7 separate regions of the Homo sapiens genome follow, and regions 1, 2, 4, 5, 6 and 7 are each linked to region 3. The links are contacts of gene promoters, found by promoter capture Hi-C in blood cells and fetal thymus (Javierre and others, 2016). All regions are on one chromosome and are shown on one strand. The core of a region is centred on a gene start or on the middle of the fragment in contact, and the rest is flanking DNA. Distances in the headings are between cores, read along the strand shown.

Region 1 (3,745 bases), core at 391-2,890, 1.0 Mb after region 3:
AATTGCATATAAATGAATTTTTTCAGTCTATACTATTTTGAAACTTCTTCCTAAACAAAATTTCTGAGATCCATCATGTTGTTGTGTATCACTAGTTAATTATTTAAAATTGCTGAGTATAAGGTCTATTGTCTAAGTATTCCATGGTGTATTTATTTGTTTTTATTTTGGTAGACATTTGAATTATTTTCAGTTTTTTACTAACTTGAATAAAGCTTCTGGAAATATTCATGTACAAGTCATTTTCTTTTTTTTTTCTTTCTTTTTTTCTTTATTATTATTATTATTATTTTGCCATGTTTTAACTTCTCTTGTGTAAAAACCCAGGAGCAGAAGTACGGGGTCATAGTGTAAGCTCTTGTTTAACTTTATAATGAACTGGGAAACAAATTTGCAAACAATCTGATACTATTTTAAGTGACATTTCTAGAAGTATTATTTTCTAATCGTTTGTAACATAGTACACTCCCAATGTATGAGAGTTGCAGTTGGTCTGTATCCTCACAAATAAATAGTATTTTCCAGGCACGGTGGCTCACGCCTGTAATCCCAGCACTTTGGGAGGCCGAGGCGGGCGGATCACAAGGTCAGGAGATCGAGACTATCCTGGCTAACACGGTGAAACCCCATCTCTACTAAAAATATAAAAAATTAGCTGGGCGTGGTGGCGGGTGCCTGTAGTCCCAGCTACTCAGAAGGCTGAGGCAGGAGAATCGCTTGAACCCAGGAGGTGGAGGTTACAGTGGGCTGAGATTGCACCACTGCACTCCAGCCTGGGTGAAAGAGCGAGACTCTGTCTCAAAAAAAAAAAGAAAAGTGAAGTTTCTCACCATCATTTTAATTTTCATTTCGCTGAAGACTAATGATGTTGATAACTTTTCATGTACTTATTGGTCATTTGTATGTCCTCTGTTCTGACGTGCCTGTTCAAATATTTTGCTTATTTTAAAATTTGTGTTGTCTTTTTATTATTGATTTGCAGAATGTGTGTTTGTGTATATAGCTGTGCGTGTGTTTGTGTGTGTGTATATATGGCATATATATATGTTGGTTACTCCCCGCTTCCCCTTTCCCTTATAGATTTTCCTGTTCTGGGCATATCAGATAAATGGAGTCATGTAATATGTGACCTCTTGTGACAGTCTTCTTTCACTTAGCATAATGTTTTCAAGGTTTGCCCATGTAGCATGAGTCAATACTTTATTCCTTTTTGTGGCTAAATATTTTGTTGTATGCATGTACTATATTTTGTTTATTCTTTTTAATACTCTGCTAGGTTTTGTTTGCTAGAATTTTATTACTCTTTCACATCTATGTGTATGAGAATATTAATTTGCCTTTTTTTCAGTAATAGGTTTGTTAGATTTGTGACAGGTTTTATTTCTTCCTCTAATTTAGGAAAGAGTTTGTTAAAATTAGCATTCTTCTTTCTTTAATATTTAATATATAGTTCAGCAGTTAAACCAACCAGGCCTCCAGCTTTCTCTGTGAGAAGGTTTTTAATTTACAAATTAAATTTATTTACCAGGCAGAATTATATTTATTTTCTTCATTTTTCCTTTCAATTTTTAATTCACGCTTTTCAAGAAATTAATCCTTTTACCTAATTTGAATATACTAACACAAGGGCATGTATAATATTTGCCCATAGAATCTACAATGACATGCCATCTTTTATTCCTAGTATTGGTAATTACTGTTTTTTCTTTTTTCATCAACAGTACCTATGTTAGGGTTTAACCATCTTATTACCTTTTTTTACAAAAACACTTTGGCTTTTAAATTTTCCAATATTGTTTGTTTTATATTTTGATTTTTGCTCTTTATTATTTTTTTATTTATTTGAGTGTAATTTTCTCTACTTTTTCTATCTTCTTAAAGTAATCCTTAGATTATTGATTTTAATTTTTTTCAAATATAAGAATTTGAATCTCATATATTTCTAAGACTTAGTTAAACTGGATCATACAAATATAGAGTGATTTGTTTTCGTGAACATACATTTTCAGAAATTATCTAATGTGCCTTGTTGTTTCTTCTTTACCTTGGGTGATTTACAAATGTGCTGTTTCGTTTCAAAATATTGAAGATTTTCTTCATCTTAGTGAATTTTAATTCAATGCCATTGTGGTCAGAGAACATACACTGTAAAATTTCAATATTTTTAAATTTATTGCTACTTATTTTATGGTATATCATGAATGAATCTTGAACATTTTTAGCATTTGAAAGGGATGTGTGTTCTGCAATTGTTGCAGTAGTGTCCTATAAATATCAATTAGGTTAAAATGGTTGAGATAGTGCTGAAATCTTCTACTTACCTACTGATTTTTTTAATTCATTAACGAACTTTAGTTTTTAGAGGAGTTTTAGGTTCCCAGTAAAATTGAGTGGAAAGTACAGAGAGTGTCTCTATATGTCCCTGTCCCCAGACAGACACAACCTCCATTACTATCAACATCTCCCACCTCAGTGGCACTTTTGTTGCAATCTATTGACACATCTTTTTTTTCTTCTTTTTTTAGTTTTATTATTATTATACTTTAAGTTTTAGAGTACATGTGCACAATGTGCAGGTTTGTTACATATGTATACATATGACACATCATTATTAATCAGTGTTCTACATTATGGTTCTTGCTTAGTGTTGTACATTCTATGAGGTTTGAAAAATGTATAATAACATATATACACCATCATAGCATCGCACAGAATTGTTTCATTACCCTAAAAATCCTCTGTGTTCTACCTGTTTACCCCTCCCTATCCCTACCTCTTGATAACCACTCATCTTTTTACTATTCCCATAGTAACATTGAGCATGTTTTCATACACCTATTGACCATTTATATGTCTTCTTTGGAGAAATGTCTACTCAAGTCCTTTGCCAATTCTTAAAACATTTTAAAAAGTGGGTTATCTGTTGGTTTTGCTATTGAGTTGAAGGGGGTCTTTATATATTTTGGAATTAACTCTTCCTCAGATATATGATTTGCCAATATTTTTTCTCATTCTTTAGGTTGGCTTTTACCTGCAGATTGTTTTCTTTGCTGGGCAGAAGCTTTTTAGTTTGATGTAGTCCCATTTGTCTATTTTTGCTTTTGTTGTCTGTATTTTCAGCGTCAAATTAATGAAATCCTTGTGAAAAGCGATATGAAGATGTTCCCTAATGATTTATTATAAGAGTTCTATAGTTTCAGATCTTGCATTTAAGTCTTTAATCGACTTTGAGTTTATTTTTGTTTATGGTGTAATATAATGGTTCAATTTCATTATTTTGATGTGGATATTCCATTTTCCCAACACTATTTGTTAAAGAGACTATTGTTTCTCCATTTTGTAGTCTTGGCACTTATGTCAAAAATCATTTAACCAATATATACATATGGGTTTGTTTCTGAACTCTTTATTCTATTCCATTGATCTATATATCTGTCTTGATGGCAGTACCAGATTGCATTGATTATGTTGCTTTGTAATATGTTGAAGTCAGGAAGTATGAAGCTTCCAGCTTTATTCTTCTCTCTCAAATCATTTTGGCTATACAGTGTTTTGTTGTTGTTGTTGTTGTTTATTTTTTGGTTTCATATGAATTTTAGGATTTTTTTTCCATTTCCACAAAAAATGCCAGTGGGATTTTGATAGCAATTACATTAAATCTTTCGGTCACTTTGGGTGGTCTCGACATTTTAGCAATATTAATTTTTCCAATCTGTGAACATGGGATGTCCTTCCATTAATTTGT
Region 2 (3,630 bases), core at 520-3,019, 1.1 Mb before region 3:
CTTCCAGAGCAGGAAAAAGACAAAACGTATTTTTGTATTGATTTGTTCAAAGAATGGATCCTCCAGAAGCGGTTGGTTACTGCCAGAAATATAAAATAATTCAGATCCTTGCCTCATCCTTGCGAAGCACCCCCTAGTGGTTTAGCTCAAAGATAAATCATTGATTTTTCAGGTGTGACAAGACCTAATATTTTACTAGGTTATAGAAGGATCTTTAAAAAAATGAATGAAGTGATTTGGCTTGTGTTCATCATTCTAGTCGTTATTTTCACCATTCATTCCCCCGGGAATGAATGAGAACATGTTGAGTGCTAAGATCGTGTGCTAAATTTAGTTAAATATGTCCCTGGAGCTAAGTAAGCGTGTGCCACTGTCACACCAGCTGACTTTCATCCATATAGTCTGCAGAGTAAACAGCATGGAGTGCTTATCAGTATTCATCAGGTCAGAGTTACTCTGGACATTAGATTACTGGTAATTTTTATTAGCTTTGAAGCAACTTGTTACTAATGAAGCCTTTTAGGAAACTGTGGGAAGATTGAACATGAATGGTAAAGAATTGGATCCTAATTCCTTATTTTTGCTGATTCTATGCCCACTTAAACTTTTGGCCCTTAATATTTATTTAGGAAATTCATTCATCATTCAGTTATTCATTTTTAGAGACAGGGTCACACTCTGTCACCCAGGCTAGAGTGCCAGTGGTGTGATCATAACTCACCAATTCACTACAGTCTCAAACTTCTGGGCACAAATAATCCCCCTGCCTCAGTCTCTTGAGTAGCTGGCATTACAGGTGCACACCATCAGGCCTGGTTGTTTGGTTTTGTTTGTTTGTTTTGGAGAGACAGGGTCTTGCTGTGTTGCCCAAGCTGATCACAAACTCCTGGCCTCAAGCAATCCTCCTGCCTTAGCCTCTTGAGGAGCTGGGGTTACAGGCACAAACCACCACGCCTGGCAATTTTTTTTTATTTGTATCTATACTAAGTATATAGCTTAGGGTGATGGTTATCAAACTCTGGGTTGTGTCTGGAAGTCAATTTAGTGGTCTGCAGCTAGCTGTTTTGTTTTGTTTTTATTTTTTCCCCAGCAAGATAGAGAAATATCAGAATGTTGCATGTAATAGGGTGTGGTTTCAGTATTCTTCTATTGCCATTTTACTGTACTGAACGGTACTTGAATGCTTGTATCATTATATGTACATACACCTTTGGGTCACTATGTAAAATGTATTTCTTATTGTGGGATTATATCAAATAAAGTTTTGACTAATTTTGACTAGCACAGTCAGACAATCTGGGTTCAAGTTCTACCTGTGCCATTTAGATTTTGACTATAGGCAAGTTATTTTATCTGCTGAAGCCTTAGTTTCATCATCAGTAAAATGGAAATACAGTAAAATTCACCTCAAAAGATTTTGAAAATTAATGAAATGGTGAAAGGGAACTGCCTATTGTGAGGTAAGAACGTGTTCCTTTAAACATTAACTATAAGTAGTATTGATTCTAAAGGGACTACAACCACCCTCAAGACCATAGACTAGTTGCAAGGAATTTTAGAGCTTATTGGATGCCAAGAGCAGAAGAGAGCAGCTGTATTTATCACCCTGTGTTTTTTCATAGTTGCACACAAGTGAACTCAATGATGGCTATGATTGGGGTCGTCTTAATCTTCAGTCAGTGACTGAACAGAGCTCCCTTGATGACTTCCTTGCTACTGCAGAACTTGCAGGAACAGAGTTTGTAGCTGGTAAGTTGTTTATTGCTGAGTGCAGGTGAGACTGTCACATTTCCATCTGGGGCTGAGGTTTTTTTTGTTTTTTGTTTTGAGATGGAGTCTCGCTCTGTCACCCAGGCTGAAGTGCAGTGGCGTGATATCAGCTCACTGCAGCTCCGCCTCCTGGGTTCAAGCAATTCACCTGCCTCAGCCTCCCAAGTAGCTAGGACTACAGGCACGCACTGCCACGCCTGGCTAATTTTTGTATTTCTAGTAGAGATGGGGTTTCACCATGTTGGCCAGGATGTTCTTGATCTCCTGACCTCGTGATTCGCCTTCCTTGGCCTCCCAAAGTGCTGGGATTACAGGTGTGAGCCACCGTGCCCGCCCTGAGTCTTGAACAATGAGTAGATGTTCAAAGGACAGATGAGATAAGACCTTTTACACAGACAGGCAGAGGACTCGAGCCCAGATGTGAAGCAGCAGCCAACTTTGTTCAGAAAATGGCTAGAAGTTTGGCTTTGCTGGTGCAGGGGGCGGGATGTGATGAGCACAGGTGCTGAGGAGGTGGGCAAGGGCCAGATTCTGGAGAGAACAAAGGTTTAAGGCTTTACAGGGCTTTAAGCACGTGTACAACATGATTTCAGATTTCATTGTTTAGTGTTTTTTGGGGGGATGTGTGGGTTCCAGCTTTAATGAGCTACACAATTGGCAACTAAAAATTGTATATAGTTATAGTATATAGTGTGACGTTTGGTTATATGTATATATTGTGAAATGATTACTAAAATCAAGTAATTAACGTATCCATCACCTCACATTGTTTTTTTGTGTGTGCGGTGAGAACAAGATATATACTGTCTTAGCAAATTTCATATTATTAACTAATAAATGTGTTATTATTAACTATGGACACCAGGCTGTACATTAGACCTCCAGAACTTATTCATCCTGCCTCAGTAAAACTTTACCGTTTGACCAGTATCCTCCTATTTGCCCCACTCCCTAATCTCTGGTAACCACCATTTTCTCTCTGCTTCTATGAGCTCGGCTTTATTCCACGTATAAGTGAGATCATGTGGTATTTGTCTTTCTGTGCCTGGGTTATTTCTCATAGCAGAGTGGTTCATTCATATTGTCACAAGTGTCAACATTTCCCTCTTTTGTAATGCTGAATAGTATTCCATTGTATACTACATATACCACGTTTTCTTTATCCATTCATACGTTGATGGGCATTGAGGTTGGTTCCATATCTTGGCTCTTGTGAATAGCGCTGCAGGGAACATGGGAGTGCAGGTATGTCTCATGGGTACATGAGATTTCATTTTTTAAAAGATCACTGATGAATTTTAAGGAAGCAAGATGAGTTAGGAGACTGTATCACTTTAGTCTAGCAAAATAGGCCAGAACTGAAATACAGGTAGTAGAAGAAGGGAGAAAATAAGAGGAACAAGAACACTTAAGGAGCTAGAGTAAACCAGACTTGATGGAGAGGGTAGTGTAAGTGAAAAAGAGTGAAGGGACAAAAATAAACTCCTGGGTTTCACAGTGAAATAACCACTTCACCCACTAGGATAGCTAAAATAAAAGAGACTATAACAAATGTTGGTGAGGATGTAGAGAAATTATAACACCATACATCGCTGTGGGAGTATAAAATGGTGTAGCTGTTTTATAAAAAAATTTTGGCAGTTCCTCAAAAGGTAAAACATGGAATTACCATCTGATCCAGCAGTCCCACTCCTGGGTATATGCCCGAAAGAAATGAAAACATGTCTACACAAAAATATGTGCATGTGTATTCATAGCAGCATTATTCGTAATCACCAAAAAGTGGAAACACCAAAAAGTCCTAAAGAGGCAAATCTACAGAAAGTAGATGATTTCCACCAGGTACCTGGGGGTGTACAG
Region 3 (3,707 bases), core at 447-2,946:
ATCAGATATGTTTCCTCACTAAATATTGAGAAGTAGAAATGCAAGGGTTGTAAATAACTTACTTTAATACCAAGGGCTGTGAACTTACTCAAAGACTAAAATTCCATGAGATTAAAAATACCTATGCAATAATTCTAACTGACTAACACTGTTAACTATTGTTATCTCATCTAGTTCTGTATTTTGGACTCCAGTTAACCTATATAAAACAAATTGGGCCGGGCGCGGTGGCTCACGGTTGTAATCCCAGCACTTTGGGAAGTCGAGGAGGGTGGATCACATGAGGTCAGGAGTTCGAGACCAGCCTGGCCAAAATGGTGAAACCCCCTCTCTACTAAAAATACAAAAATTAGCTAGGCGTGCTGGCGCGTGCCTGTAATTCCAGCTACTCCGGAGGCGGAGACAGGAGAATTGCTTGAACCTGGGAGGCGGAGGTTGCAGTGAGCCGAGATAGCGCTACTGCACTCCAGCCTGGACGACAGAGCAAGACTCCGTCTCAAAACAAAACAAAAACAAACTAACGAATGCATTCCATTCCTTATAAACACGATAAATTATCTATACCACTTAAAAAGGTCTGGAAAAAATTCAAAACAACTGCTTAGAAGTTAATTCAGGAAAACCACGTTTTTCCAATTTTGCTTGATGCATCTTACTTCCTATCAAATGCCTGCAACAATGAGCTAAGCTTGAAGGTATCTAATGATACTAGAACAAAATTTCCTATAAAATCCAATTTAATCTCATTACAATGCATATAGTAACGCACAGAAATGAAAAGATTTCTATGATTTTCTATTTAGAATTAAACCACCCCAGGGCAACAATGATTGAGATTAGAAAGGTGGTGCCACGTTCACGACCTTGCATCAAAAAGTAAGTCTCCCTCCCGAAACACAGAAAAAAGCTGCTATTGAAAGGGCATCTCGAATCACCGTCTCTGACACCGTGTGCGTCATTGCTCTAGTTCTGACTTCTATCAGCGGGCTAGGGAAAGAGACGGACGCCCCTTTCCCCGATAGAAGAGCCCAGGTACCTGAAGATGCAATGTACACATGGCGTGGAAATGGAAGAAAAAGAAGACACCGAGAGTTAGGAGAAATGTGGAGAGAGGTGACTCATGGACAGAGCCAAACCTGGCAGGGAGAGGACAGAAAAAAGGCAAAAGAGGCAACCAGAGACAGACAGAACACTGAAGACACAAGGGTGTAAAGGGCAGAGACAAAAGGACAATAGAGACGGGCCAAGATTGAGAGGCGTCCAGAATTTTCGGGTTGGGTAGGGCCAGAGAAAAGGGCCAGTATTGAAGCCGGCTCCGAACGTAAGCCCAGCCAGGGCTCCTGTCATTCTGGGTCCTCAAGAACATCTGGGAATTCTCCAACTGCCGTCGGCCTGGCCTGAGAGTCACCTGCACATTTTTGGAGATAGAGATAAGACAGCCCCACTCTCAAGAGGCCCCAGAATTAACGGGGCCAGATTAGAGCCTGCACTTACCAGGCCACAGCGGCCCGACGTAGTCGCCACATCCCGCCGGCGGGGAGGTCACGCAGGCGCCGAGACGGCCACGCGGGAGCCCCCGTGTGAGCCCCAGCCCGGCTCCCGGTCCAGGAATGACCCAGGAAGTGGCCCTCAGCAGCAAGGGCACAGAGCCGCGGCCGAGGCCCTCCCAATGGCGCATGGACTTCCGCAAGAGCCTGACAGGCACCCGTACTCAGTCCGTCACGGAAACAACCACTTCACCCTTTCTAGGCGGGCAGCACGAACGGTCCGCGGAGGACCAGCGCATGCGCACAGTGCGTCGGGAACGGACTGGAGCAATCCATCGCCTCTCACGGGGCCCCGCCCTCTTGCTTCCGATTTGGAATTCGGAATTAGCCTTGCAGGTTAGAGATTTGGCCAGGGGAGGGAGCGAGAGTTGGGCGGGAACGGGAAGGGCTAAAGGCGTGGAATGAGAATTGATGAATGCTCACCGGGAGCCATGAATTTATTAAGAGTTGGATATTGAGGGAGCACGAAGGAAACTAGAGAGTGCAAGGTGAAATACAGTAATAGCGTACTACAAACTAATGCTTGCACATTTGCCTACCTTCTTTCTTGGGCATCTTTGTTTGAAAGCACTTTCACATCGTTAGGGCAATCATGGGAGGTGAGAAGCAGGACGAAGAGTCATGGATAGGCTAAGTCCCTTAGAATCTCTGAGGATCAGATGGGAAAGGGACTTAAATCAGTTAGGCCAGTAACGGGTTTGGAATAAGCTTGTGTGGTTTATAAAAGGCGTCAAAATGATTTGTTCAACTGTTTCTTCCGGATTTTAAGCCCACCAGTTTGTTGAAATGGTCCTCGTCAAGGCCTCCACCAGCTCCCTATTGTTTGTGGCCAGTGAGCCTGCCACAGCATTCAGTTCAGATGCCTAGTGCTGAGCACTCCTTCAACTACTTTTTCTTTTGGCTCTCTGGCCATCACATTCTCCTTTTTCCCTGGAACTGCTGCTCCCAGGCTTCTTTGATGGCTCCCCTCCCAAATTTCTCAATGTTGGACAGGCCCAGATCTCAGCCATCTTGAGCTCCTCTCCTCCATCACTTTAAATACTCCTTTCCCCTTCCAACACAAACCTTTTATGTTTTGTAAGGAAACCAGGGCCCGTAAAAGGGATGTGGCCTGTGAACGGTTATGAAGCCAATTTTTAGGGACTAAAATAAAAGGGTCCTGTGCATCCTCTTTACTTCAGGGACCTTTCACCTCCTCCCCACTACCCGCCCCCCACCCATGCCACACACATACACAAATACACAGAGCATAAAGACAATTCCTTTTCCCTTAATTGTCAGAATCATAAGTCTGGACCCATGCACTCACAATACCACCAAGAGTAGACCTAGCCATTGATAGTAAACTTCCCAAATGCAGGACTCTTAGAATTTTCTTTATTTATTGTGGTGACTGTTTCAATGGCAGGTCCAGAGAGCAATTTGCTGTACCAACCTGTGCAAACTGTAGATCTTCCTGGGATTGTAGGGTTGTACAAAAAGTGTCTTTGTAATCGTTACTTCCTTGTTATTTTAGAAAATAAAATAAGAGAAACCAAGAGACTTTAACAACAACAACAAAAAAGAAAAATTAGGGATAAAAGACTTTAACCATAAAAAAAGGAGAAACTAACCACCATCACCATTTATATATGGTTATCATATGTTTTATGAAGCCCTTGTTTTGCAGTTCTACTTCTAGGCATTTATCCTGTGGAATCATTCCCATGTATGCAAAGATGTATGCATGATGATGTTTATTTCTGCACTGTATGAAATGGGAAAAGATTGGAATCAGTATAAATGTCCATGTATAGGAACTAGACACATAAATTACATCCGTACTAGCCATGAAAACCTATGCTTTAGGTCTGTATGTCCTGATAAGGAATGATCTCCCATAGATACATAGTGTTGCCATGAAAAAAGGGCAAACTGTTGTATAATAAACTGCAACCATTGGACCAAATTCAGCCCACAGACCTGTTTTGTTTGGTTTAGACAGTGTTGGCCTATGCAGTGTTTTAAAAATAACACTACATTTGGGCTGGGCATGGCGGCTTATGCCTGTAATCCCAGCACTTTGGGAGGCCGAGGAAGGCAGATCACGAGGTCAGGAGTTTGAGACCAGCCTGGCCAATATGGTGAAACCCTGTCTCTACTAAAAATAAAAAAATTAGC
Region 4 (3,712 bases), core at 521-3,020, 1.1 Mb after region 3:
ATTCATTTAACAGGTGGACTTAATAGTATCTTATAAAATTTGATGAAAGTTTTATTTGGAGAGCTTGGATAATACGAAAGCTAAAAGAGGTTGGGTGAATCTTTATTATCAGACTTGGGTAGGGCTCTTTATTACTGTTTTGGTGTCTTTAATACTCAAGATTGTTGAAATTCCAGAAGGGCATGTGGGAATCAAACATGGTTTATAACAATCACATGGAAGTAACTATTTTTCCCAATGTCACCTAAATGTAAGACTTCCCATTTAAAAATGAATATATAGTTTAAAAGTAAAATAAGAGTAGCACCTCAGATTTATGGCACTTTGGAAATTTCTTATCATTTCCTCATGCATCCCTTCATCCTAGAGGATAATGATCATCAATACTTGAACTCCTTTTGGTACCAACATTCTACTGTTAGGCTCTGAGAAGTTATGATGTTCACTTAGGTCTTCTGATTCTCAAGGCATCAAGACTATATCCTGTTGCAACTTAGAAATAACATTTCTAGTCCCTGTGTGTCTCCTTCACATTCTGGATTTTTGTATTTTAATTAAGCTTAGTAATAAATATGTTTTAAAAATCAAAGCCAAATTTATATAACTGATTTTTGTTGTAATATGTTATTTATTTTGAAGAATATGCATATGGTACATTTTTAAAGTATAAAATGGAATGCAGTCAAAAGTAGGTCTCCCTCTCTGTTGTGTTCTGCTACCTAATCTTTCTCCCTCAGACGACAACTGATGCCAATTTCTTGTGTACCTTTTCAGAAAGAGTCCATGAGTTTATAAACGTGAACGTATGCACATTCTTATTTTCTAGATTACACAAATTGTGGCAAACTATATTTATTCTTTTATATGGTTGTTAAATTCAGTAATAAATTTCACAGATCTATTCATATTAAAAAAATTGTAGCACATTACTTTGTGGGAATATACCAAAATGTAAGTTAGTTCCTTATTGATAGATTAGTATCACTACTATCAAATAGTGTTATCAACAATGTTGTACCGACTACTTTGTGCAGTTGTCACTGTTGTATGCTTATGCAACTATATCTAAAATAACTAAATAAGAATTTGCCAAAGGGGGAATTGGCTTTTTAAAGTTTGAAGGTTAGAGACAAATAGCTATCCATAAAGGCATTAATGCTTACTTTTACCAAGAATGTATGAGGGTTCCCATTTCCTTTATATTCTCTCTAGTACACCAAGTTATCAAACATTTTTATCCTTGAAATCTTATACGGTATTAATATTTGATTTTGGATTATATATATTATTTCATGTGTGAATCTGATGACTTTTCAAATGTTTAAAAGTAAGTTATATCTTCTATCTAATTCATATCCTCACTCTAAATTCTTTCTGAGCTATTGTTTTTAAATGTAATACAGAATTACAAATATTTTTCCCAATTGGAAAATCACAAAAAAGTCCCCCCCGTTTTTTTTTGTTTTTTTTTTTTTTGAGACGGAGTCTCGCTCTGTCGCCCAGGCTGGAGTGCAGTGGCGCGATCTCGGCTCATTGCAAGCTCCGCCTCCCGGGTTCACGCCATTCTCCTGCCTCAGCCTCCCGAGTAGCTGGGACTACAGGCGCCCGCCACCGCGCTCGGCTAATATTTACTATTTTTAGTAGAGATGGGGTTTCACTGTGTTAGCCAGGATGGTCTCAATCTCCTGACCTCGTGATCCGCCCGCCTCGGCCTCCCAAAGTAAAAGTCCCCATTGTTTTCATTTCATCAATATTTAAATAAATTATTTCTTACATATTCTAGGTACCAAGATATACAAACATAAAAGATATGAACATGAACACCAAAATTTGGAGGCGAAAAGGCTCATAGTCTCTTGGGGGGAAAATATACATGTGCAAGCTGAATAAAATAAATCCTATAATAGAGGAATTGCAGTGTGCTGTGGGAACTACGAGGAAGCTGTGACTGCTTTGGGGGAGGCGGGGAGATAGGAGGGAAAGTTTACCAGAGAGATCGCTGTGGCTTCTATGGTAGGTCTCAAGAAATGTGTATAATTTATAGGGTCAGAGACGTGTTCAGGTGATAGGAGAAAAGGGTGGAAACACCCATTTTGTATTGTGCCCCTCCTTTGGTAATGAGTTTTGACTAATGAGCAATTGCTTTTTTTCCTTGACATTCATAAGTATTTATTATCCTGAACTGATTGACCTCATATTTTGCAAAATAAACAGCTCATATTTTACTATGATGATTTAAAAACATTTTCCTTCCATTTGAATTAGATAACTCATCTTTAAAGTTTTCTTATGGCTAACGAGCTCGTGTTTATTCAAGACAACTTGTTACAGTGCTATTAGAAGAGATGGAAAACGTCCAACTGCAGCCCCAAATCCTGGAGGTATCTATTTGAAGATAAGAAAAAAGTTCTCAAACAAATGACAAAATGTTCAAACTCAATCATAATTAGAGATATGCAAATTAAAACATTACAATCACACTGACATAAATGAAAAAGTAGGACAATACATTATGTTGGTAAGGCTGTGGGCAAATAGGCAATCATATATTGCTGGCAGGAATCTAAATTCATACAAGCCTTCTGGAGTAAAATTCAGCAATACTTAGCATAAATATCTATACACATACTTTTCGACCCAGCATTTCTTTTTCTAGGAGGCTACCCTGGAGGCACACAGAGTGTATTTCTCACAGGAGTATTGGTTAGCAGTGTTTTCTACAATATGAAAATGCTACACACAAGGTTACTTATTGCAGCATTGTTTATAATAGTACAATACTGGAAACAATCAAAAGACCACTACATAGAAGAGTGTGTGTGCATTTGTACAAAAGAAACACAGGCAAGATAAACTAAAGAAACCAGTTACCTATAGGCAGTGCATGGGAAATAAGTGGAAAAAAAGAGGGAACAGGAACTGGCCAGGAGGGATAATGAGGGAATAACGATTATCAAGCTATACTTTTTGGTAAAGCTTTGACTCTAAGTACCATAGTAACGTTTCACGCACCCAAATAAAAAAAATAATTTAAGTAAACTAAATCTAGTTAAATAATTAAAATCAATGTGTATGGAATATAAGTTTACAAATGAATAACCAAACCACACTGAAGAGGATGGGCAAGTAAAGAAGCAACCTAAGTCACTTTCAAAAGAAAATAGTATTTTGATTGGATACTGTAAAGTTCAAGACAAAAATAAGTGTACATAAATACTGTACTCTTGTAATAAGTGTTTCTCACAGGAGTATCAGTTAGCAATTCTCTAACTACCTTAAGTGTATAGTAGGATTTAATAAATAAGTGAATATATTATAAATAACGGAAGTCAGGCCTTTCACTGTCAGAAAGAAGTTACAAATAAGGAAAAGGCAAAAAATAAAATGAACCTGGTGGTATTGACTTAGGATTGAAGTATTAACGATATCTATCTCTATCTCTAGCTCTACATGATATATCAGAATCTATCTAAAAAGATATACCGATAGAAATGTAGAAATAAATATGATGTACGTGTATGTGTATATAGATTTCCTAGCTCTCTCTGCTGAGAGGACCTGAGAGCAATAACACCCCAGTAAGAATGAGGACACTTAGCGCTCAGATGTTGGTTGCTATTGTTCTCCAAAGAAAGAACCCAGACTCATTTGGCAATCATTTGAATCCAGGGCTAGGGTAGAGGGGACAAAATAAACTTGGAACATTATGTGA
Region 5 (3,676 bases), core at 837-3,336, 1.1 Mb after region 3:
TGTAATTCCCTTTCTTTGTCTCCATCCCCACAGAAAATAATTCTACTTGTTGGTGCCAGCCAAATATTCCCAGAGCACTGATGTCCTCTTTGCTATTATCTTTTCATCATCTGCATGGCATTTCCCCCCTCCTCCAGCCCCCAAATCCTTCTTTCTTCTCTTTCTCAATCCCAATTTTGTCTTTCAAACCCAGGCTGGCCCATATCTGTGCCACAAACCCTTCCCCAGTTCTCGAGTCTGTAAAAATTCCTGATTGTATATGCTCTATAGTGTTTATAGGGTCTTCATTACCTGTAATCTTATTCTTTAGCCTAACTCATGTTACCGTAATAATTTTTAAAATATTCTTACTTCTTAATATTCTAGGGGATGGGAAATGCAACTTAAATTGTGCAAACTCCAGAAACTGGGCACAGTGGAGGCATTCAGTTAAAATGGACCAAATGAACTGGGTAGCATTGTCATGAGAGTGTAAAACAGGATTTTGTTTAACCAGACTAGGTTAGTAGACTCATGCTGCTATTTTTCTCCCCCACCTTACTCACACCTACCATTCAAGAGTAAGGAATCTCTCTTTATTTTGGTTTGCTAAGGAAGATAGGAGAGTCTGCAGACTTTTTTTTTCCATTTATCATTTTGTTTGGTGAAAGAGAAAATAGATAATGCTTAAGGTCTCCCAGGTGTTTTTAGTTGGACATCTGAAATAAAGAAGTTGACTAAATCTGCATTATTAAGACTCCATGTGACTTTCACTGGGTGATATGTTTCAATGACACCTGACTCAGATGGAGCCTGGGACTTTGGACAGGTGGGCATCTGCTCAGGGACCCATCCTACTGCTCTGTCTTTTGAGATAGCTGCTACTGCTGCCTTCTGAAAGGATGATGGTGTTAGACTCTAAACATAGATGGCACTGATATAGTCTCCTGTGGCCTTGGAAGTGGAATAATTCCTTTTAGACACTGGTGAGGAGAAGGAGGGAGGCCCAGGCATATTGCCTCTTCAAAAGGGAATATATTTCCTGTATCCAGAAAAAGAAGAACTAAAAGAAGGGAAGAATTTGGCTTTGGATAAGAACACTCATCTGCATGATGTTTCACAGTGTTTTTCAAACAGCATGCCTCTTTTAGGCTTCCATATTTTGATCAATATGTACAACCGGAGATTTATTTTGCCTTAGTGATGTCTGTTCTGCAGAAAAGTGGACTGAGCAGGTTCTAACCAGAGAAAACTTTTAGTAAGAATTAAAATATATAACATAACATCAGGACAACACCAACAGTATGTTTCATGCTTACTGGAATATGAGAAACTGTTTCTTTTGAGTTTATGCAAGTCAACAGTTACACTGAAACAGTAATCCAATTCTGAAGACCAATTAAATACTATGATAGTTTTTAAAAGAATTTTCTAAACTTCATTTTTCTTTCAGCCGGTGTTCACCTTTAACTACTTCAAGTATGCTTTTCCACAGTCTAGTATTTGAAAATTTTATCTTAGTCACAAGAAAACTGAAAATGATTAATAGATGATCAAAATATTTACATGAAGAATGAATACAGTAGACTCTTTGAAAAGTTATACTTAGGGAATGATCAAGAATCTTAGATATTATAAAACAAAAATTATACATTTGTATAATTCTTTACCTTTACATAATATTTTAACATGTTATTTCATTCAAACCCTAAATGACTATTATGGGGTAGGAAGATAGTACAGTATATACTATCTACTAATTATGGAGTAGGAGGATATATAGTATATAGTTTGGAGTTGGGCCAGGGGCTGGATTCTAATCCTACTTTATCATTTATTAGCTGTAAGACTATAAGTAAATTACTTAACCCACATTAATAAGACTCACTTTTCTTATCAGTAAAATGGAGATAACTGTTGTACCTGCTTCTTGGGTTGTGGTGATAAGTACCAACCTGGTGGTTGGAAAACGGTAATTGCTCAGTATATATGTTCTATGAGAGGTTAGGTAGGGCAAGATATTTGCTTAAAAAGGTCAAAAGACTTGCCCAGGGTTACAGAGCTAAAATGCAATGAGATTTTAGGCCTAATGCCTACCAAGGATATTTTGAATTTAACGATTCTTAGCAAAGTGAAATTCTGGCTTACATTTTTCATAAGCCAGTGTGCTTATCAGTCACACAAAGAGGTAACCTATGGATGCCCATGTGGGAAAGCAATTATCTCCAGAATTGAAACAAGTTGTATTTTTAAGTGATGTAAAGTACAACCACTTAGCTCCTGATTAGGAAACACCAACGTTCTTGTTGATGACAGTTTTCTATTGTGTCATGAACCTGAAAGAATAATTGATCAAACAGCATATTAAACTATCATTATAAATATGTGGTTTCGAGTGAAGTCATTTTTAAATCAACCATATGCAATTTTCTGCTACTAATAATTTATAGCTAATTTTTCATGCCAGATCAAATTACCAATCAAAAGTGTGTATTTTGGGGCCAGACTTGACTCTTCCCCTCTCTCCACTCCCATTCTCCATTTCAATAGCTGCTATACTTACAGAAACTGGAACTACAATATAAATGAGTCTAGTGTTTAAAAATAAATATAGTTATACAATCATTGGGAATAAAGTATCTTTATACTGGTAATAATATCGTACCATTGTTTCTACTTATTCTTCATTTATCTTAATACAGGTAACTAAAAATTGTCTATAAACTATACTGCAATAGAATTTTTCTTGTTATTGGGAAGACTTTGAGCCAGATATCGTTGGTTTGGGCCTCCAGATCCCCTCCACTCTCCCACCTCTGCTTTCTTCCTGGGGGTCTCCCCTATGTGAACTCTTTGAGGGGCATGAGTGTACTCTGCTGCTTGTTGGGTTTGTCCAGTGGGAAGCGCTGGCAGGAGATAGAGTGAAGAGAGAAAGCAAAGTCAGTCTTTATTCCTCTAGTTTCTTCCCTGTGAAGTGACCTCTGGCTGGCCATGGCAGAATGTCACCGCTGCCTTCTGGGTAGTTTACACTGTACAGCTTTCTCCCCTGGATTTGGGTAGCCCCTCTCTCTTCTTTTTCCGTTAAGCTAGTACAGCTCTGCTGCTACTAGCCCTGGGTTCCTACCTGCTCCCTGTAGTTTCTCTACACCTCATTCTTCCTTCTGTAATCACTTCTTTTGTAAGTAAATATTCCTCAAATTATCCAAACTTAAGAATGCCATATCCTTTTGGGATCTAGTCTGATATCAACTTAATCATCCGAAAGCATTTATCAGATACTTGCTTGTATATGGCTCCAATCTTGTTACTCCTCCTCTTAGGAGCCATTCAATGGCTCTCTATTGCCTTCAGAGTAAAGATCATCCAAACTCATTTACAATTTGGCTATAATCAGTCTTTCTTTACTCCCACTAGTGTCCTCCAGACAACCTTTCTTCTAGCAAAACTAGACTGCTAGGTACTTCTCTGATCCTCAGTGTCTGACTTCAGGGAAGCCATTTTGCTTCTTTGTTCTCAGATCCCAAAGTTTGAGCTTCTTTCCTGCAATTTTGCATTATGTTGTATTTGTGGAGGTAATTCCATGAAAAGTCACAGTGGGGATTAATACCAACAAAATAAACAGGGGGCATATTACAGATGGCTGTGAGGCTGTTGGACTTAATGCCATTGATCAATTCATTCATTAATTATTTATCAA
Region 6 (3,554 bases), core at 50-2,549, 1.1 Mb after region 3:
ACAGCTTTCATAAAAACAATTATATACTGCATGATGTAAGTATCTTGGGAAAAAACATTCATATTCTACTACTTGTGATGCAAAGTAAGACTGATTAAAATGTTTATGTACGGACACTTTATATATTCACATACATATATATAAGCATACATAGATATAAATGTGTATGTTGTTGTATAGCTTTGTTCAGTATAGCTTTGTTATTAGGTTTCTTCAGAGATTAGGATGATTTCTGGATTATGGCTAATGAGACTGTAGAAAATGTGTTAGTGGCCAGGTGCAGTGGCTCACGCCTGTAATCCCAGCACTTTGGGAGGCTGAGGTGGGTGGATCACGAGGTCAGGAGTTCAAGACCAGCCTGGCCAAGATGGGGAAATCTTGTCTCTACTAAAAATACAAAAATTGGCCGGGCGAGGTGGCGGGCACCTGTAATCTCAGTTACTCAGGAGGCCGAGGCAGGAGAATTGCTTGAACTTGGGAGGCAGAGTTTGCAGTGAGCTGAGATCGTGCCACTGCACTCTAGCCTGGGTGACAGAGGAAGACTCCATCTCAAAAAGAAAAATGTATTTTATATATATATATATATATGCATAGGCCCTCCAATTCTTCCCACAGCACTTTCAAGTATGTAGATAAGCCCTTGAGTTTTACTAGTGTTTCTCTGTACTACAACTGTGTTTCAATCTGTGTCCCACATATTAAATAAATCACAAATGAGAGAAGGAATAGAATGCATGATACAGTAGGTTGTACCATTGTATTCCATGCAGATCACAAAGCATTTGCAGGTGGGAAGGAGGAGATTATATCTGGTCTTGGGAATCATGATTTTCAAGGAATATTATCACACTAGAATGCATCTAGGGGATAATGACCAGGATATTAGTAGGATTTGGAATCATGACTCAGAAGGAACAGGTAAAGACTAAAAATATTTAACCTAAAGAAGAGAGATTGAAGTAGGATATGATGGTCTGATGATTTTGAGGAAGTAGAAGTAGGTTTGACAGATTTAGTTTGAAAAGCAGCTCTGTGCCAACAGGAAGTACTATTGTAGAGAACACAATGGATGTTTTGGCTGCTTATCAACTTTGCAGTGACTGTTATTGTACAAACAGATGCTAGATGACTGTAGGGATATTGCAGAGGGAGTTAAACATCTGATATGAAGCAGAAATAAATGACCTATGAAGTGTCTTCTAGCTCCCATATTCTGTGTCAAATCTAAGATGTTACGAGAGGAAGAGCTAGTGAATTTTCTGAGCTCTAATGGAGACTGGAGGGGAAGCTACAGAGGAAGACAGAGATGCAAGACATACTTGGTTATGCTAAATAGTAGAAAGTATTTCAGAAAGTATCTAGAAACATGAAACTTGCCATTTGATTTCTGAAGTGTTTAGATAAATCTCTAGGTACGTGCTGTTCTGTCATTCTCTTCTGATCCAAGGAGTCAGAACTGTGTCCTTGGTATATAGCTAGTTCTCTTCTAAATAACAGAAAAAAATCATCCTGTGATAGGGTTTGGATCTGTGTCCCCATCCAAATCTCAGGTTAAAATGTAATTCCCAGTGCTGGAGGTGGGGCCTGGTGGGAGGTGATTGGATCACGGGGGTGGTTTTTCCTGATTGAACACCATCCCCCTTGGTGCTGTTCTTGCAACAGTGACTTCTCCTGAGATCTGGTTATTTAAAAGTGTGTGGCACCTCCCCCTTTTCTCTCTCTTCCTCCTGGTCTGGCCGTGTGAATTACTTGCTCCCCCTTTACCTTCTGCCGTGATTGTAAGTTTCCTGAGGCCTCCCCAGAAACCGAGCAAATGCCAGCATCGTGCTTCCTGTACAGTCTGTAGAACTGTGAGCCAATTAAACCACTTTTCTTTATAAATTACCCAGGCTCAGGTATTTCTTTATAGAAGTGCAAGTCCTGACGAATACATTCTTTGAGGCCTTCTTATGTCTTCCTTTGAGTGGTAAAATTTGCTATAAAATAATAAAACCCTTAGCACATAGACTTGGATAAGTGCATAAATTGGGTGGAAGAAGCAAGAATTTAATTTATGGGCCACTTAGTTAAGAAGAAGTCCATTTGACATACTTAACAGCTAACTGTGCTCCTAATGCAGAGTTAATGTTTTATATGTAGACTCACAGATTGATGTTGCAGAGAGAATCTTTAGAGATAATTTAGTCCTTTCACAGATGAGCAAGCTGAGGTTCAAGGAAGAAATCTGCTAAAGGCACACAGTCTCAGCACCTAGACTGAGACCCTGGACTCCTGCTGTCATTGGCCAAGGCATACTCTGACTCTTTATATTTCCATTTGTCTCCTAAATTTGTAATTCCCATGATTACACATTGAGATGACTATTTCTAAGTTTTCCTAAAAATAAGGGTGGATTACTTGAGCCCAGGAGTTCAAGATGAGCCTGGCCAACATGGTGAAACCCTGTCTCTAAAAAAAAAAAAAAAAAAAAAAATTACAAAAATTAACCAGGCATGATAGCACATGCCTGTGGTCCCAGCTACTTGGGAGGCATCATCACTTCTTATCTCTACCATCCTGTGTATAAATTGGAAAAATTTTGGAACTGACCCAGAGGAAAGCACCATTAAGGAGGCTTTTCTCACACCTAGTGACATGTGAGGAGCAAATATCAACTAACACAGTAGCCCAAAACTAGAAATTCTTGCACCTCTTGAAGAATTGTGTTATATCGGTGTGATCCTTTCTCTTTTAATCAACGTATCTAAAAATTAATTAAGCTTTGTCCTAGTAATGGTGTCTGTAAAATCACAAGTTTAGCATGCTGTTTTTTCTACTATAAAAATAATTACTTTAATATAACCATACTTTTTTTTAACAGTTTCATCTGTGTGTCAACTAAGATAATTTTGTATACCGTGCTTTGGGAATTGCTGAGGAAATGAGACTGTTTCAAAAAACTCTGCAATGTGTAATAATAATTTCTTCTTCTCCACCCTCCCCATCTGACTACTAATATCTCAGTAATTTAAGAGAAAAAAACATCAATCCCTACCTTTGCGTGTGTGTGTGTATGTCATTTTTATATATTTTTTTCTTTCTCCATAAGGGTGGAGGAAATAGGAAAGAACTGGAAACTAATTTGTTAGAAACATGAATGAATCAGGTTACAATTATATATTAACTAATGATATGAATCTTTTGGCTAGAAAAAGTGATTAAGAAAATGTGCAAAATAATTATTTCATTCCTTCTTAAGTATTGATCAGGTGTTTACAAATTTATTCTCATTAGATATGTAAGATACAAACAAAGTGTCCTTTATAAAGTTTTTCTTCCTGCGATGCCACCAAAAAGTCCATACAAACCTAGATAAACATTCCAAATTCAGTTTAGGAGATTTAAGTCTGTAGTATGAATACTCTTACATGATGAATGACACTCCTGTTTTGATCCCAATGGTGATGGGAGCAATCTGTCTTGTACACCTACCATTGTGTTTGAGCTCAACTTAATGCATGTTGCTTGAGAGACACAATACCTTGATCCTATCTGAGCGAGAATTTTTCATTTTA
Region 7 (3,687 bases), core at 1,091-3,590, 1.1 Mb after region 3:
AGCTATGCGGATGTAAAGGCATAAGAATGAGACAGCGGACTTTGGAGGCTCAAGGGGAAGGGTGGGAGGGGGGTGAGGGATACAAGACTACCCACTGGGTACAGTATACACCGCTTGGGTGATGGGTGCACCAAATTCTCACAAAATCACCACTAAAGAACTTATCCATGTAACCAAACACCACATGTTCCCCCCAGACCTACTGAAACTAAAAACAGCAACAGCAGCAACAACAAAACTCATCCCTGGGCCCCACCCTGAGCAGTGTAATTGGAATCTCTAAGGGTGGACCCAGGCATTGTGTGTTTTAAAAACTTCTCACGTGCCTCTAATTTGTAGTCAAGAGTAGAACCACTGATCTAAGAGTAGGAGTAGAAAAAAGAGGGTAGTATGGCAAGGTTGGAGAGCTTCACCAGTGAGCCGGGTTTGGGTTGGGAACACTGGCAGGAGTCATAGTATGGACGATAATAAAGCATGTTGTTTTGCAGGTAGCTTTGTTCTTAATTTAAAAAAACAAAAACAGAAACTAACCTAAAAAAAGAACAAAACAGATGAATACCAGCTACTCTGATTTAAGTGAGTTAAGGGACTAAATCCTACCCACAAGCTCTTACTCTTCCATCATCCTTTCACATGATTCCCTGTCATGCCTAGAGCTTCTGGAAGCAGAGTTCCGAAAGCACCCATCTAGGTGCCAGCCACTGTGCTGGGCTGGGAAGGTGTCGGGTGGTTTTTGGGAATCAAAACGCACGACTGTTAAGTGCAACTGGCAGCTCATAGGATATGTGATGTTAACTTTTGGGAATGGCCAGGTAAGCTTGAAGAGTTCATCCCCAAAAGATAAAACCATAACCAGTTGATGGAAACAAGGTATGTCTTTTATTATATAATATTTTGATAATTCCTTTGAACAACGACAACAACAACTTTTTTTTTGAGACAGAGTCTCACTCTGTCACCCAGGCTGGAGTGCATTGGTGCAACCTCAGCTCACTGCAACCTCTGCCTCCCAGGTTCAAGAGATTCTCCTGCCTCAGCCTCCCAAGCAGCTGGGACTACAGGTATGTGCCACCACACCTGGCTAATTTTTTGTATTTTTAGTAGAAATGGGGTTTTGCCACGTTGTCCAGGCTGGTCTCGAACTTCTGGCCTCAAGTGATCCACCTGCCTCAGCCCCACAAAGTGCTGGGATTATAGGCATGAGCCACCGCACCCTGCCAACAACAAAATCTTCTATCACCCTAAAGTAACAACTTTGAACAGCTTGGTCTGTTCCTTTCTAATGCCTTTGATATTATTTTCCCTCCTCTATACCTGGGGATTTATTATAACTACAGTTTTCCAGCTTGCTCTTTTCACTTGACACAATAGCATGAGCATGGTTTCATATCCCCACAAACTCTTCGTACATCATATTTTTAATATCCCTGAAAGCTTTTCGTAAGCCATTACAGTTGTGTAGCTTCTACAGAGTGCTTCTCTTATATGGCTGCATATTTAAATTTCTTACATTATAAATCAGTTATTTGTATAATTAATATATATCATTATCATATGAAACTTTATACATAAAGTCCTTTTTAAAATGTATTAAGTCTACTGTAGGCTTTTAAATCAAAAGTTAGGGGCATTTGTACCTAATGTCCTCTCAGTGAACTGTCATATTAAAGAACCTTGGTAATGCCTTCTTAACTATCTGAGAGTTCTTAACTTGCCAATAACTCTGTGTCAGTCTATTTTCTGTTGTTTATAACAGAATACCTAAAACCAGGTAATTTATAAAGAAAATAAATTTATTTCTTACACTTATGGAGATTGAGAAGTCCAAAATTGAGGGGGCATATTTGCTGAGGACCTTCTTGCTGGTAGGGACTCTCTACAGAGTCTTGAGGTGGCAAAGGGTATCACATGGCCAGGGGGCTGAGCATCCTGCCATACTAACTCAGATCTCTCTTCCTCTTCATGTAGAGCCACCAGTTCCTTCCCATGATAACCCATTAAATGCATGAATGGATTAATCCATTCATGAGTCAGAGCCCTCAAGACCCACTCACCATTTAAAGACCTCACCTCTCAATACTGCCACATTGAAGATTAAGTTTCAACATGAGTTTTGGAGGGTATACTCAAACCATAATAATCTCCGTCCAGAAGAATTTATACTCCCACTGTTTTATTGACATTAGAAATTCTTAATAGTTTCAGTGTTTGTTAATTTTATTATTTTAATATACATTTCTTTATTACTAGTGAGTTTTAAAAACATGTTTTAAATTTCAAAATGAAACAAGCCATATATTTTATTTGATTCATTTTCTTATCATCCAATAATCATTAAGTAATAATGTGTGTTTTTTTTTTTCTTGTGACAGAGTTTCGCTCTTGTTGCCCAGGCTGGAGTGCCGTGGTGCGATCTCAGCTCACTGCAACCTCCACCTCCCGGGTTCAAGCGATTCTCCTGCCTCAGCCTCCCGAGTAGCTGGAATTACAGGCACGCACCACCATGCCTGGCTAATTTTTTGTATTTTTAGTAGAGACGGGGTTTCAACATGTTGGCCAGACTGGTCTCAAACTCCTGACCTCAGATGATCCCCCTGCCTTGGCCTCACAAAGTGCTGGGATTACAGGTATGAGCCACCGTGCCTGGCCAAGTAATAATGATTTTTAAAAAACATCTTCCCCACACTTCTGCTTACACACATACTTCTGTTTAGGGTCAGATAACTGAAAAGTGAATTCAGTTATAATCTCAGTTATATAGCTTGTAGGAATGAGAACATAAAATTTCTTTAAATTAAGAAATAAAAACCACATCAGATAAAAATACTGATTAGGATTTGATAGATACTAGTTTATAATTTACCTTATAAATATGATGGAATTCCAGTCACTATTAATCCTTCACAGGAATTTTGTACTCTTCTCTTACTTTAGGGTATTTAACCTAATTTGGGTATGTTCTATAGTGCTCACCATTTTTGATATCACAGTGCCAATATTTTCAATTGTCATTATAAATTAGGCAAATGTGTTCCATGAAGATTCTGTTTAACTTTCTTTTTGATGATCTCAAGCCTGAATGTTTTGAGCTGGAGGTGTGCATGTGGATCATTTTTTTGGCATGTCTTTAAGCATGTTCCTCCCAGTGTAATTCAAGGTATATTTGTTATTCAAAAATAAATGTTTTACAATGTTCATTTACAAAAATCCCATTGTTAAATGATTGCATTTTCTGAATAAGCTTCAGCCTGTGAAAAAATGTGTCCTGTATGTTATATAGGTTATCACATTGAGTAAACATTACTTGAAACAGATCATGGATTATAGATTTTAAAACTGGCCCCCATATCACTTAGCACAAACTGTGAGCCATACCACATGCTTAATGAATATATGTACTCTGGATAAAAAAGAAAGGTGCAAACACTTAGCAGTACCGTATGGCAGGAAATACATAGGAATTAAAAATGCTTAACTTTTTGCTCCAGTTCAGTTAAAGTGATTGTGAGAAATTCATTTTAACTCTCTAAGCCCCATGATTCTTGCCCTAACCAGCTTAGAGTGCTCTTGAAAGTAGCAAATTAAATAATATATAAGAAAAAAGTTTCCAACTGTAAGGCACTATCTAAATGCAAGTAAATGCAAAGTGGATATATATATATATATATATATAAATATATGTGTGTG

Evidence for each region. Contacts are between HindIII fragments. The CHiCAGO score rates a contact against its expected background, and 5 or more counts as called.
Region 1: a contact is called between a fragment that was not itself captured here and the fragment with the promoter of OPA1 in region 3, in 1 of 17 cell types (endothelial precursors). The highest score is 5.1, in endothelial precursors.
Region 2: a fragment that was not itself captured here is called in contact with the fragment with the promoter of OPA1 in region 3 in 1 of 17 cell types (activated CD4 T cells); the score reaches 5.4 in activated CD4 T cells.
Region 4: a contact is called between a fragment that was not itself captured here and the fragment with the promoter of OPA1 in region 3, in 1 of 17 cell types (total B cells). The highest score is 5.7, in total B cells.
Region 5: a fragment that was not itself captured here is called in contact with the fragment with the promoter of OPA1 in region 3 in 2 of 17 cell types (naive B cells and total B cells); the score reaches 9.6 in naive B cells.
Region 6: a fragment that was not itself captured here is called in contact with the fragment with the promoter of OPA1 in region 3 in 2 of 17 cell types (total B cells and naive B cells); the score reaches 8.7 in total B cells.
Region 7: a fragment that was not itself captured here is called in contact with the fragment with the promoter of OPA1 in region 3 in 1 of 17 cell types (naive B cells); the score reaches 6.5 in naive B cells.

Annotation. Positions count from the first base shown.
Region 1 is chr3:192,558,436-192,562,180 of GRCh38, reverse strand. All of the region lies in intron 2 of FGF12 (fibroblast growth factor 12), which reads left to right. Among named protein-coding and RNA genes, the nearest start is that of FGF12-AS3, 43 kb to the right of the region's middle. The HindIII fragment of the contact is 2,846 bases long and covers 218-3,063 here.
Region 2 is chr3:194,668,128-194,671,757 of GRCh38, reverse strand. It overlaps LSG1 (large 60S subunit nuclear export GTPase 1), which reads left to right. Exons shown (of 14, transcript NM_018385.3): 2 at 1,623-1,749. Among named protein-coding and RNA genes, the nearest start is that of LSG1, 2.2 kb to the left of the region's middle. The HindIII fragment of the contact is 3,764 bases long and covers 1-3,630 here.
Region 3 is chr3:193,591,197-193,594,903 of GRCh38, reverse strand. It overlaps OPA1 (OPA1 mitochondrial dynamin like GTPase), which reads right to left and starts at 1,696. Exons shown (of 31, transcript NM_130837.3): 1 at 1,495-1,696. The coding sequence starts at 1,526. It also overlaps a transcript of ATP13A4 not described here. RefSeq lists enhancers at 1,138-1,217, 731-1,382, 1,818-1,867, 1,918-1,987, 1,383-2,034 and a silencer at 1,448-1,597. The HindIII fragment of the contact is 1,567 bases long and covers 691-2,257 here.
Region 4 is chr3:192,519,962-192,523,673 of GRCh38, reverse strand. All of the region lies in intron 2 of FGF12 (fibroblast growth factor 12), which reads left to right. It overlaps FGF12-AS3 (FGF12 antisense RNA 3), which reads right to left. Exons shown (of 2, transcript NR_185499.1): 2 at 2,276-2,385. Among named protein-coding and RNA genes, the nearest start is that of FGF12-AS3, 5.0 kb to the right of the region's middle. The HindIII fragment of the contact is 2,417 bases long and covers 562-2,978 here.
Region 5 is chr3:192,476,472-192,480,147 of GRCh38, reverse strand. The region is part of intron 2 of FGF12 (fibroblast growth factor 12); the gene reads left to right. Among named protein-coding and RNA genes, the nearest start is that of FGF12-AS2, 37 kb to the left of the region's middle. The HindIII fragment of the contact is 8,441 bases long and covers 1-3,676 here.
Region 6 is chr3:192,491,876-192,495,429 of GRCh38, reverse strand. The region is part of intron 2 of FGF12 (fibroblast growth factor 12); the gene reads left to right. Among named protein-coding and RNA genes, the nearest start is that of FGF12-AS2, 21 kb to the left of the region's middle. The HindIII fragment of the contact is 2,925 bases long and covers 1-2,761 here.
Region 7 is chr3:192,460,669-192,464,355 of GRCh38, reverse strand. All of the region lies in intron 2 of FGF12 (fibroblast growth factor 12), which reads left to right. Among named protein-coding and RNA genes, the nearest start is that of FGF12-AS2, 53 kb to the left of the region's middle. The HindIII fragment of the contact is 1,807 bases long and covers 1,437-3,243 here.